3 separate regions of the Homo sapiens genome follow, and all the other regions are linked to region 1. The links are contacts of gene promoters, found by promoter capture Hi-C in human tissues and cell types (Jung and others, 2019). All regions are on one chromosome and are shown on one strand. Each heading gives the region's core, a stretch centred on a gene start or on the middle of the fragment in contact. The rest is flanking DNA. Distances are from core to core; before and after follow the strand shown. Region 1 holds the start of PDCD1 (programmed cell death 1). Region 2 overlaps ATG4B (autophagy related 4B cysteine peptidase). Region 3 overlaps ING5 (inhibitor of growth family member 5).

What was found. The method cuts DNA at HindIII sites, captures the fragments that hold promoters and counts their contacts. A contact is called where the count stands out against the background at its distance.
Region 2: a contact is called between a fragment that was not itself captured here and the fragment with the promoter of PDCD1 in region 1, in 2 of the 25 tissues and cell types used here (fat and lymphoblastoid cells).
Region 3: a contact is called between a fragment that was not itself captured here and the fragment with the promoter of PDCD1 in region 1, in 2 of the 25 tissues and cell types used here (lymphoblastoid cells and spleen).

The regions. Positions count from the first base shown.
Region 1 is chr2:241,857,166-241,860,714 of GRCh38, forward strand. PDCD1 (programmed cell death 1) reads right to left here and starts at 1,729. Exons shown (of 5, transcript NM_005018.3): 1 at 1,598-1,729. The coding sequence starts at 1,673. LOC124908032 (a long non-coding RNA gene) reads left to right here and starts at 1,907. Exons shown (of 2, transcript XR_007088436.1): 1 at 1,907-2,912. RefSeq lists an enhancer at 935-1,897. The HindIII fragment of the contact is 28,999 bases long and covers 1-3,549 here.
Region 2 is chr2:241,647,356-241,650,904 of GRCh38, forward strand. All of the region lies in intron 1 of ATG4B (autophagy related 4B cysteine peptidase), which reads left to right. Among named protein-coding and RNA genes, the nearest start is that of ATG4B, 11 kb to the left of the region's middle. The HindIII fragment of the contact is 8,495 bases long and covers 1-3,549 here.
Region 3 is chr2:241,715,645-241,719,193 of GRCh38, forward strand. All of the region lies in intron 5 of ING5 (inhibitor of growth family member 5), which reads left to right. Among named protein-coding and RNA genes, the nearest start is that of ING5, 15 kb to the left of the region's middle. The HindIII fragment of the contact is 9,714 bases long and covers 1-3,549 here.

The sequences.
Region 1 (3,549 bases), core at 479-2,978:
GAATAGATCAGGAGGGAAAAGAGGCATCCTGGAATGAAGACCACTGCGGCCGGGGTGGCCACATCTGGGTCAGGACCCACAGGACCCCAGTCATGCCCACTGCGCCTTGCTGAGTGCCCTGTGCTGTTACCAGTGGGGAAACCGAGGCATGCCACCTGTGAGAGTCTTGTCCGGCACAAGCGCGGGCACCTGAGGCACGAGTGTCAGGCTGCGGACACCTTGCTCTTATCTTTCCCGCCTGGGTCGGGGAGGGTGGCGTCCCGAGGGCGTGCCTGAAGAGCCGGGACACGGGGGGAGAGGCTCGGCTCCCCTCCTGCCTCGCTCAGCTCCCCCTCCCCTGTGACGAGCGCCCCTCTGCCCTCTGGTTCCCCCGCAGTCGTCTCCCTGGGATGCCTTTTGGCCCTTTGCTCTTTGCCTTTTGCCCAGAATCTCCAGTTCTGAGTCCTGAGTGACCCACGGGCCAACCTTAAGAGGTGGCGCTGAGGCAGGAAGGCACGGCCCTGACAAGGATGCTGCCTCAGGTGCCGGGGAGCAGGCCCCGGGAGAGGGGCCGAGGTGGGGAACCCCCAGTCGCCTGCCACAGTGAAGGGGCACCAGGACCCCCGGGGCAGGAGCCTCGAGGGGGTGTCAGGGCGGCCCCAGGGGTGCCCCTCATCTTGTCCTCCCAGTGGTGTCACACCCCGGTACCCAGCAGGGCCCAGAGGGACTGTCTTAGGCTTGGCCTGGGTGAAACCACCCTCCCCAGGCCTTGGCATCCCCAGGTGCAGGCTGGCTGGGCACAGAGGGCCAGCCGGGCACAGAGGGTCCAGGAGCGGGCTGTGGTCACAGTGTACACAGAGGGCCCAGGGTCACGGGCAGCCCAGGAAGAGGCTCCCTCTCTCCTCGATCCGGGAGAGTGAGGCCAAGGCCTCCCCCACGGATGGTCTGAACAGGGCTCGGGGAGAGCCCTGGAATCTGGGCAGAGACCCAGGCGGGCACAATCCCCACCCAGGAGGGATCCTGGAGACAGAAGAACTGTCCTCACTCGAACAGGTACACTTTGGATATAATGAGAAAAATATCACCAGCTCATCTAAACTTTGACGTCGTAAAGCCAAGGTTAGTCCCACATGGGGCTCATCCCATCCTTAGGAAAACTCGAGTGAGGACCAAGGATGCCTGGGCAAGGCAGAGCCGCCACGCAGACTCCCCACGGCCAAGGTTTGGGGTTCTGGCCAGCCTGACCCGTCATTCTACAGAAACACGCAGCCCCAAGGACCGGCTGAGAGGGGACAGAGGTCCTGCCTGCCCAGGAGCAAAGAGGGGACTTGGGCCAGGGGAGGAGTTGGGGCCCAGAGAGGAACCCAGGAGTTCGAGCTGCCCAAAGCCACACAGCTCAGGGTAAGGGGCAGAGCTGGGGGCCAAGGCTGGGCCTGCCACAGCACCCCCCGACCTGCCAGGGACTGAGAGTGAAAGGTCCCTCCAGACCCCTCGCTCCGGGACCCCTGGGCTGCCAGGGCCAGGCCCGCCTCAGCACCCCCCGACCTGCCAGGGACTGAGGGTGGAAGGTCCCTCCAGACCCCTGGCTCTGGGACACCTGACCGCCGACCCCACCTACCTAAGAACCATCCTGGCCGCCAGCCCAGTTGTAGCACCGCCCAGACGACTGGCCAGGGCGCCTGTGGGATCTGCATGCCTGGAGCAGCCCCACCAGAGTGCCGCCTTCTCCACTGCTCAGGCGGAGGTGAGCGGAAGGGAAACTGTCCCAGGTCAGGTTGAAGGGAGGGTGCCCGCCCCTTGCTCCCGCCCCCTCTTCCTCCACATCCACGTGGGCGAGAGTGACAGAGGCAGTGCTGGGGGAGGAGGGGTGAGGAGGGGGTAGGACTGGGGAGAGGGTGGGGGAGGGAGAGAGAGACAGAGACAGGGAGACAGAGGAGATGGGGAGGAGGTGGGCCCGTGGCCCCCACGCCCTACCCCGTGGGGGTCTCCCCAGCTCAGGGCCCCTTCCTCCTCTGTGTCTCTGCTCACTGCTGTGGCCTCTTTCCATATCCCGCCCGAGCTGCCCCTCCTGAGGCTGCCGGGTGGGGGCAGGCCCTTCTCCTCCCCCATCCCCCCCATCTCCCTGGGGGCCGGGCCTCCCTGCCTGGGGAAGGTGGGTGGCCCCCTCTGGGCTCAGGTTCCTGGGCTGCAGTGAGGGGTGGGCTCAACCCCACTCCCATTCTGTCGGAGCCTCTGGGAGCCTCCCGGCTGCCCACAGCCTCTGCCCCTGCTGGGGGCAGGTGCCTGGCCTCTGCCTTCCCGGCCCATCCCCCTTCGCTGGGGCACAGGTGACCCTACTGAATGACAACTGTCCATGGCTAATCGGCTCCCCCTCAAAGCTTCCACCTTGTGGATGGCCTCACACCATGGCCACAGTTCCAGATCTTTCCACCGTGTGATGCCTGCAACAGCCTGACGGGGGGGCTGGGGCGGTGGCAGGGGCTGGCTGTGAGGCTGACCTCCCCTTCCAGCCTTGACCTTCTTCCCCGGGGCCCTGCCCTCCAGCCCACTCGTGCCAGGGTGGGGTGGTTCAGGGGGTCCAGTGCCTGGGCCTGGCTGGCGGCCCGGCGTTTGTGAAATGGCTTGCTTATCTCCTTGTATTCTGTGCTGAGCATTTTATTACAGCGAATGGAAAACAGGAGAAATGAAACTGCTGATATTAGTGATGAGATGCGTCAGGCTCATCAGCTTAAAATAACCGAAGCGAGGCTAGAAACCGCCTGACAGCTGGCGCGGCTGCCTGGCTCCGAGAGACACTCGGCCCGGCTCTGAAGGGAAAACATTAAAGCACCGAAACAGTGGAAAAAGAGCATCAAAGATGATGTCTGCGAGGCGCGGCCACGGCGAGGAAGCTCTCGTTTATGAACAAAGGGCCACTCCCGGGTCTCAGAGATGTGAGGCTGTGTGGGTGGCTTGGTGGGGAGGTGGGGGGGGCCCAGCTGGCCAGGTGGGCTTGGCGGGGGGCCCCCAGGGAGCCTGGCAGCACCCACTGTGCTGCCAGACAGCTAAGGTGGCCCGCAGCAACTGTCTCCTGGCACACCCACCCTTGTGCCTCAGGGGCTGGGGCTCTGGGGCTGGAGAACTGTTGGTTGGTAGGTGCCTCCATAGCCCTGTGCCTCGCCCAGGCAGTGGATAAGTGGCTAAGCTGCCCCTGCTGGCTGTACTTGTCCTGAAGGCAGATTCTGGACAGAACCTCCCTCTGCCCCCAGCCCTGTAGAGCCTTGTTCCAACCTCTGTTGAATGCTGTCTCTGTTCCAGGGCAGCAGTGGGCCTTCCTCAAGGCTCTGAGCTTTGTGGGACGAAGCTGTCCTCTGAGGACTGGGAATGCCACTGTGTGGGCTGGAGGGGAGGCTGGGCCCAGGAGGTGGGCTCTGAGATGGGAGATGCTATCAGACCCCTGGAAGGTCTCCTCACCACCAAGGCCCTGCCCCCAAAATTCCACCTGCCAGGGCTTGGACACATGTCCTGGAGTAGGGGGCGGGCACAGGGAGAAACCCAGCTTCCATCCTACCCCTTCCTTCCTTCTCCTTC
Region 2 (3,549 bases), core at 1,015-3,514, 210 kb before region 1:
CGCCTGTAATCCCAGCACTTTGGGAGGCCGAGGCGGGAGGATCATGAGGTCAGGAGATTGAGACCATCCTGGCTAACACAGTGAAACCCCGTCTCTACTAAAAAAAATACAAAAAATTAGCCAGGCGTGGTGGCGGGCGCTTGTAGTCCCAGCTACTCAGGAGGCTGAGGCAGGAGAATGGCATGAGCCGGGAGGCAGAGCTTGCAGTGAGCCGAGATCGCGCTACTGCACTCCAGCCTGGTGGGCGACAGAGTGAGACTCCGTCTCAAAAAAAAAAAAAAAAAAAAAGAAAAGAAATTAGACCGGTGGTGTTTTCATCCTTTTTCCTTGAGAATAAGTTTTCTGGATTTTAGTCTATATATTGAATAAAGCCTACAGGTCAAAGAATAGTAGGGACTTCTGAAGATTCAGGAGTGGCTTTAGAGAGGTAGCAGGGACATCATGATGTTTTTCAGCTCTTTAAAAAGATAGGAGTGGGCCGGATGCTGTGGCTCACGCCTGTAATCCCAGCACTTTGGGAGGCCGAGGTGGGTGGATCACTTGAGGTCAGGAGATCGAGACCAGCCTGGCTAACACAGTGAAACCCTGTCTCTACTAAAAATACAAAAATTAGCCGGGCATGGTGGCAGATGTCTGTAATCCCAGCTACTCGGGAGGATGAGGCAGGAGAATTTCTTGAACCCGGAAGGTGGAGGTTGCAGGGAGCCAAGATCATGCCACTGCACTTCAGCCTGGGCAACAGAGTGAGACTCCATCACAAAAGAATAAAAAAAAGGCATGGACCTTAATTCATCCTAATTCAGTTTTTGTAATCATGTGCAGAAACAAGTAACATATATATAAAAAGGCAGGAGAGAATGTAAACTTGGACTTTATTTATTCACAGTCACCAAGCAGTTTGGTTGATAATGTCTCTGAAAGCATGGACAAGTGAAATATGTAAGAGCAGAGCTCTTGGGGGCCAGGTGCAGTGGCTCATGCCTGTAATCCCAGCCTTCGGGAGGCTAAGGCAGGTGGATTGCTTGAGCCTAGGAGTTTGAGACCAGCTTGACAACATGATTAGACCTCATCTCTACAAAAAATACAAGAATTAGCTGGGTGTGGTGGCACATGCCTGTAGTCTCAGCTGCTCAGGAGGCTGAGACCGGAGAATTGATTGAGCCTGGGAGTTTGAGGCTGCAGTAAGCTGTGATTACACCACTGTACTCCAGCCTGGGTGACAAAATGAGTCCCGGTCTCAAAAAAAAAAAAGAAAAAAAAACAGGAGCAGAGCTCTTGGACAAAGCCCTGCTGTGGAAAGCTTGCTTCATCTGGCTGCAGCCGCTCCACAACGCCCGTCATCTTGCTCAGGAAGCCACAGCACTACTCTAGGAAAGGGGCAGAGAGGGGCCTGGGTCTCCCACAGCTGAGAATCCTTTAAACAGTGCCTGTAGGGCCCTCTATTGTGGATTTGGTAGTTCTGCCTGCACCGAGGGAGATGCTTGCAGGTGCTTCTGAACCCTGTGTTTGGGAATTAGCTGCGCATACAATTAAGGCTTTTGGGTATAGTAAAATTTGTGTGCCTTTGACCCTGTGGTTCTGAGTCCTCGATGTTAATGACAGAGCGGACATTGCAGCCCTTCTGTCTGCCAGCCAGCACCTCATTGGAAGTGTTTCATTGAAACGTCACACCCATATGCTGAGGCTGTCCTGTTGTTATCCCATTTTATGGATGAGGGAACATTCACACTTAGAAGTTAAGTGAGTGGCCCAGGAAACTACAGTTTACCAGTACCCAAGCTGGGCTTTAAATTCTGACTGCCCCCTGCCTCCCCAAGGGGATTGTGCACAGCACAGAAGTTCACACACGATGCTTTTTAGTATCAGCTTAGGTGGAGATCTGTGTTTATGTAGAATGCTGAGGAAACCACAGGCATAGTATGATTTCACGTACGAACCTGTGCATAAAGACTTCTGGAAAGAGTCATTGCTGGGCAACGAGGCTTCACGTGATTTGTGTATTTTTGTAGTCTTCAGAATTTTTTATGATTAGCATATGTCATTCTTATTGAAGTGTGGGGTTGTTATCAAAAAGTAAATTTAGATGTGGGAGAAATTCATATGTGATTGATTTTCAAAAGATTGCTGTAAAGTTGCTGGTGAAGGATGAGTGATCAGACACCATCAGAGCTGGAGAGGCAGCAGATGGGAATTGTGTGTTCCCAGTTCCCTGAAGAGCAGCTGGAGAGAGATGCCTCTGGTGCCGCCCCAGAATACGCAATGGGCATCTCGCCACATGGGTGTTTGGGCTGGTGCATTGCTGCTGGCTGGCGCCTTCTTTTCAGGAACATTGTGGGACATGGGTATCCTCAGCCACAGTTCTGTGGACAGGAAGACCCTGGGCCTCTCTAGTTTCTTTCTTTCTTTTTTTTCTTTTTCTTTTCTTTTTCTTTTTTTTTTTTTTTTGAGATGGAGTTTCACTCTTGTCACCCAGGCTGGAGTGCAGTGGCACAATCTCAGCTCACTGCAACCTCCACCTTCTGGGTTCAAGTGATTCTCTTGGCTCAGTCTCCCTAGTAGCTGGGATTACAGGCGCCCGCCACCACGCCTGGCTAATTGTTGTACTTTTAGTAGAGACGGAGTTTCACCATGTTGACCAGGCTGGTCTCAAACTCCTGGCCTCAGGTGATCTGCCCACCTCGGCCTCCCAGAGTGCTGGGATCACAGGCATGAGCCACTGTGCCTGGCCTAGTTTCTTAATTGAAGTAAAACAGAGTAAGATGGCATGCAGGGCTAATCATTAGCCCAGCAGGTAAGCACCATGGCTCTGCAGCCAGCTGCCTCCTTAGAAAGTGGGGTGTTGCCCCATGGAAGTGGTGGCATGCTCTTCTGGTAGCATTGTTGAAATGAAAACAGGTTCAGTCCTTGATCACTAGGCTTTTTGTACCCGGGTACCTCTGGGGACTTGGCAGAGAGTTTGATCTCTCAGTGTCCAGGGGTTAACTTTCTACCTGAGAGTAGCACCCCATGCTTCTCCAGCACCTGCTCCTAACCAGGAAATTGGGGTAGACCAGAACCCCAGTCTTCCCAGCAGCTCAGTGTTTCTTGCCCCGGAGCATCTGCCTTCATCACAGTGACTCTGAACACGCTGCCATGGTGACATCTGGTAAACCTTAGGATGGCCATGGAAAACGACTCTTTGCCCTGTTTCTTCTTGGCTTCCCTTGCGTACAAGGATGAAGGAGGTGGTTTAACTTTATTTTTGTCCTTTACTTTTTAAGTCTAAAGTAAGTGCTTGAATCGGGTGGGTTTTCATTTTTTTGCTTTCTCACCCCTCAGGTTGGCCCCTAACTTGGCCTCTCACCCTCGTGTCAGCTGTTAGACACTGACTCAGTGGCTCAGAATATGAAAGGCTCAGGAAGTAGCATGCTGGCCCCACCTCCCTGTCCCCATACCTTAGCAGAGCAGCTGCCCAGCAGGGCCTCCTTCTCTTTCCTAAGAGTTTACTCCATCCATGGTGGGTGTCTTGGTAGGCCCGAGATACGAGAGGGAGTGCTGCTGTTACAAGAA
Region 3 (3,549 bases), core at 397-2,896, 140 kb before region 1:
GCTAATTTTTTTTTGTATTTTTAGTAGAGACAGGGTTTCACCATGTTGGCCAGGCTGGTCTTGAACTCCTGACCTCAGGTGATCTGCCTGCCTTGGCCTCCCAACATACTGGGATTACAGGCGTGAGCCACCGCACCTGACCTAGAATTTTTTTTTTCATGCTACTTCTTTGCCCTATAACTTATGTAGAAGTATGTGTCTCAATTTCCAAATAATTTGGGATTTTTCAGATACCTTTCTAATTTTAATTTTTTAGTTGACTTCTGTTGTGGTCAAAGAACATTACATAATTGAAATCCTTTGAAAGCCAGCTAATTTTTGTATTTTTAACAGAGACAGGATTTCACCATGCTGGGCAGGCTGGTCTCGAACTCCTGACCTCAAATGATCTGCCCACCTTGGCCTCCCCTCCCTGTAAAGTGCTGGGATTACAGGCATGAGCCACCGCACCCGGCCTTCATTGCAATATTTGGTCTGTTCATATTTAACATAATTAATGATATGGTGGGATTTAGGTTCACCATCTTGCTATTAGTTTTCTGTTTGTTCCTTCTGCTCCTTTGCTGTCTTCTTTTGGACTAATCAGGTATTTTTTAGTATTCCGTTTTTTTCCCCACTCTTGTCTTATTAGCCATGCTTTTTTTTTTTTTTTTTTTTTTGAGACGGAGTCTTGCACTGTTGCCCAGGCTGGAGTACAATTTGCAATGGCATGATCTTGGCTCACTACAACCTCTGCTTCCCAGGTTCAAGCGATTCTCATGCCTCAGCCTCCGCAGTAGCTGGGATTATAGGTGTGCGCCACCACACCCGGCTAATGTTTTTGTATTTTTAGTAGAGACAGGTTTTCACCATTTTGGCCAGGCTGGTCTCGAACCCCTGACCCCAAGTGATCCACCCACCTCGGCCTCCCAAAGTGCTAGGATTACAGGCGTGAGCCACTGCCCCGGCCCCTGTATTTTAAGGATTGTTCTAGTGTGTGCACTCAGTTTCCTTAAGTTATCACAGTGAGCTTCAGATATTACACTATTTGATGTTTAACGTGTGGCTCCACACAAGTGTTCTTCCATTTCCTGCCTTTGTGCTGTTGTCCTTCACTTTGCCTGTGATCTGAGCTTCCCAGCACGTTATTACCTTAGATGCAAACCACTGATGACGTGAAACACGCCTTAAAATATATGTGGAATGTAAAGATGTTGAACTCACAGAAGTAGAGAGTAGAATGGTGGTCAGGCGCTGGGGTGGTCAGGGGAGACGTTGGATACAGAATTTCATTTAGATAGGAGGAATAAGTTCAAAAGATCCGTTTTACAACATGGTGACTACAGTTAATAACAATATAGTCTCAAAAAAATGTGTAGATTTTAAGTGTTCTCACCACAAAAGTCACCCCATATATAGTTACCTCATATAGTTGCCATTTCTGGTAACCTTCATTTTTTTTTTTTTTTGAGACAGAGTCTTGCTCTGTGTCCCAGGCTGGAGTGCAGTGGTGCGATCTCAGCTCACGGCAACCTCTGCCTCCCAGGTTCAAGTGATTCTTGTGCCTCAGCCTCCTGAGTAGCTGAGATTACACCCACCTACTCACCTGGTTAATTTTTGTATTTTTAGTAGAGATGGGGTTTTGCCATGTTGGCCAGGCTGGTCTCGAACTCCTGGCCTCCAGTGACCCTCTCGCCTCAGCCTCCCAAAGTGGCAGGATGACAGGCATGAGCCACCGCGCCTGGCCCAACTATTATTTCTTAATATTTATTTTCTTTCTTTAAAAATTTTTTTTCCATACATATTCTGCTTACGTATATTTCTTTATGTGGATGCAAATTTCTGTCTTGTCATTTCTCCTCTACTGAAGAACTTTAACATTTTTTGCAGTACATGTATGCTGATGGTGATGAATTCTCTGTTTTTGTTTCTCTGAAAATGCTTTTATTTCACTGCGTATAGAATTTTAGGTTGACCTTTTTTCTTTTATCGCTAAAGATGTTCTCTCATTTTCTTCTGTCTTTCATTGATTCTGATGATAAATTACTGATAATAATTATTTTTGGTGGTTTCTTTTTTTTTTTTTGCTTTTAAGATTTCTCATTGTCACTGGCTCTTAACAGTTTGGTTATGATGTGTATTGGTGTGATTTTTTTGTGTATATTTTGCGTGGAACTTGTTGAGCATCTTTGAACTGTTGGTTTATACTTTGCATCGAATTTGGAAAATTTTCAGACAGTTCTTCCAGTATTTTTGTGCTCTCCTTTCTCCTCTTCCTGCTGTCCAGCTCCCTGTGCGTTCCTTAGCTTAGATTTTCTCACAGCTCACCGAGGCTCTGCTTACTTTCTGCAAGCTTTTTTCTTTCTGTACTTCAGTTTGATTTGTTTCTATTACTTTATTTATTTATGAGACAGGTTCAGGCTCTGTGGCCCAGGCTGGAGTGCGGTGGCGCAATCTCCGCTCACCGCAGCCTCTGCCTCCCGGGTTCAAGCCATTCTCCCGCCTCAGCCTTCCAAGTAGCTGGGATTACAGGTGAGCGTCACCACACCCGGCTAAGTTTTGTATTTTTAGTAGAGTCGGGGTTTCAGCCTGTTGGCCAGGCTGGTTTCAAACTCCTGGCCTCAAGTGATCCGCCCAGCTCAGCCTCTCACCTTCCCTTTCCTTCTTTCTTTCCTTCCTTCCTTTCTTCTTTCCTCCCTTCCTCCCTCCCTCCCTCACTTCCTTCCTCCTTCCCTCCCTCCCTCCCTTCCTCCCTCCCTCCCTTCCTTCCTTCCTTCCTTCTTTTCTCTTTCTGTCTTTTTTTTTTTTTTTTTGAGACGGTCTTGCTTGGTCACCCAGGCTGGAGTGCACTGGTACAATCTTGGCTCACTGCAAGCTCCGCCTCCCAAGTTCAAGCGATTCTCTGCCTCAGCCTCCCAAGTAGCTGGAATTACAGGCACGTGCCACCATGACTGGCTAATTTTGTATTTTTAGTATAGACAGGGTTTCACCGTGTTATGCAGGCTGGTCTCGAACTCCTGGCCTCAGGTGGATCTGCCTGTTTTTGGCCTCCCGATGTGCTGGGATTACAGGCGTGAGCTGCTGTGCCCGGCCCTAAGTTAGTTTTAATCTCCTTTAATACATTTTTCATTTAAGAGATTGTAGGGCTGGGTGCTTTGGCTCATGCCTGTAATCTCAGCACTTTGGAAGGCTGAGGTGGGAGGGTCACTTGAGTAGCCGGGATCACAGGCATGTGCCACCATTCCTTGGTAACCAGCTTTTAAAAAAACATAATCAGTCCTATTTCCCTGCTGAGGGTACATGTCTCATGATTTATTAGCTGTCTGACTTTAGATATAAAGGAAGCGTGGAGAGGGAAATTTCTGTTCTCCCCAGGAGGTGTTCGTTCTGTTTTAGTCCAGGCCAATAGGGCTGGGGGCCTGGGGCGGGGCAGGGTCTCAGCTTCAGCTCCACCGAGGCCCCTTGAGGACCTTGAGGTTTCCTCTCTCGCCTCCTGCCCCAGCGGCTTCCACAGTTGGTAGAAGTGCGGGGGAGGAGACCAGCGGTGCCCGAGCAGACCCCTTGCTCGAG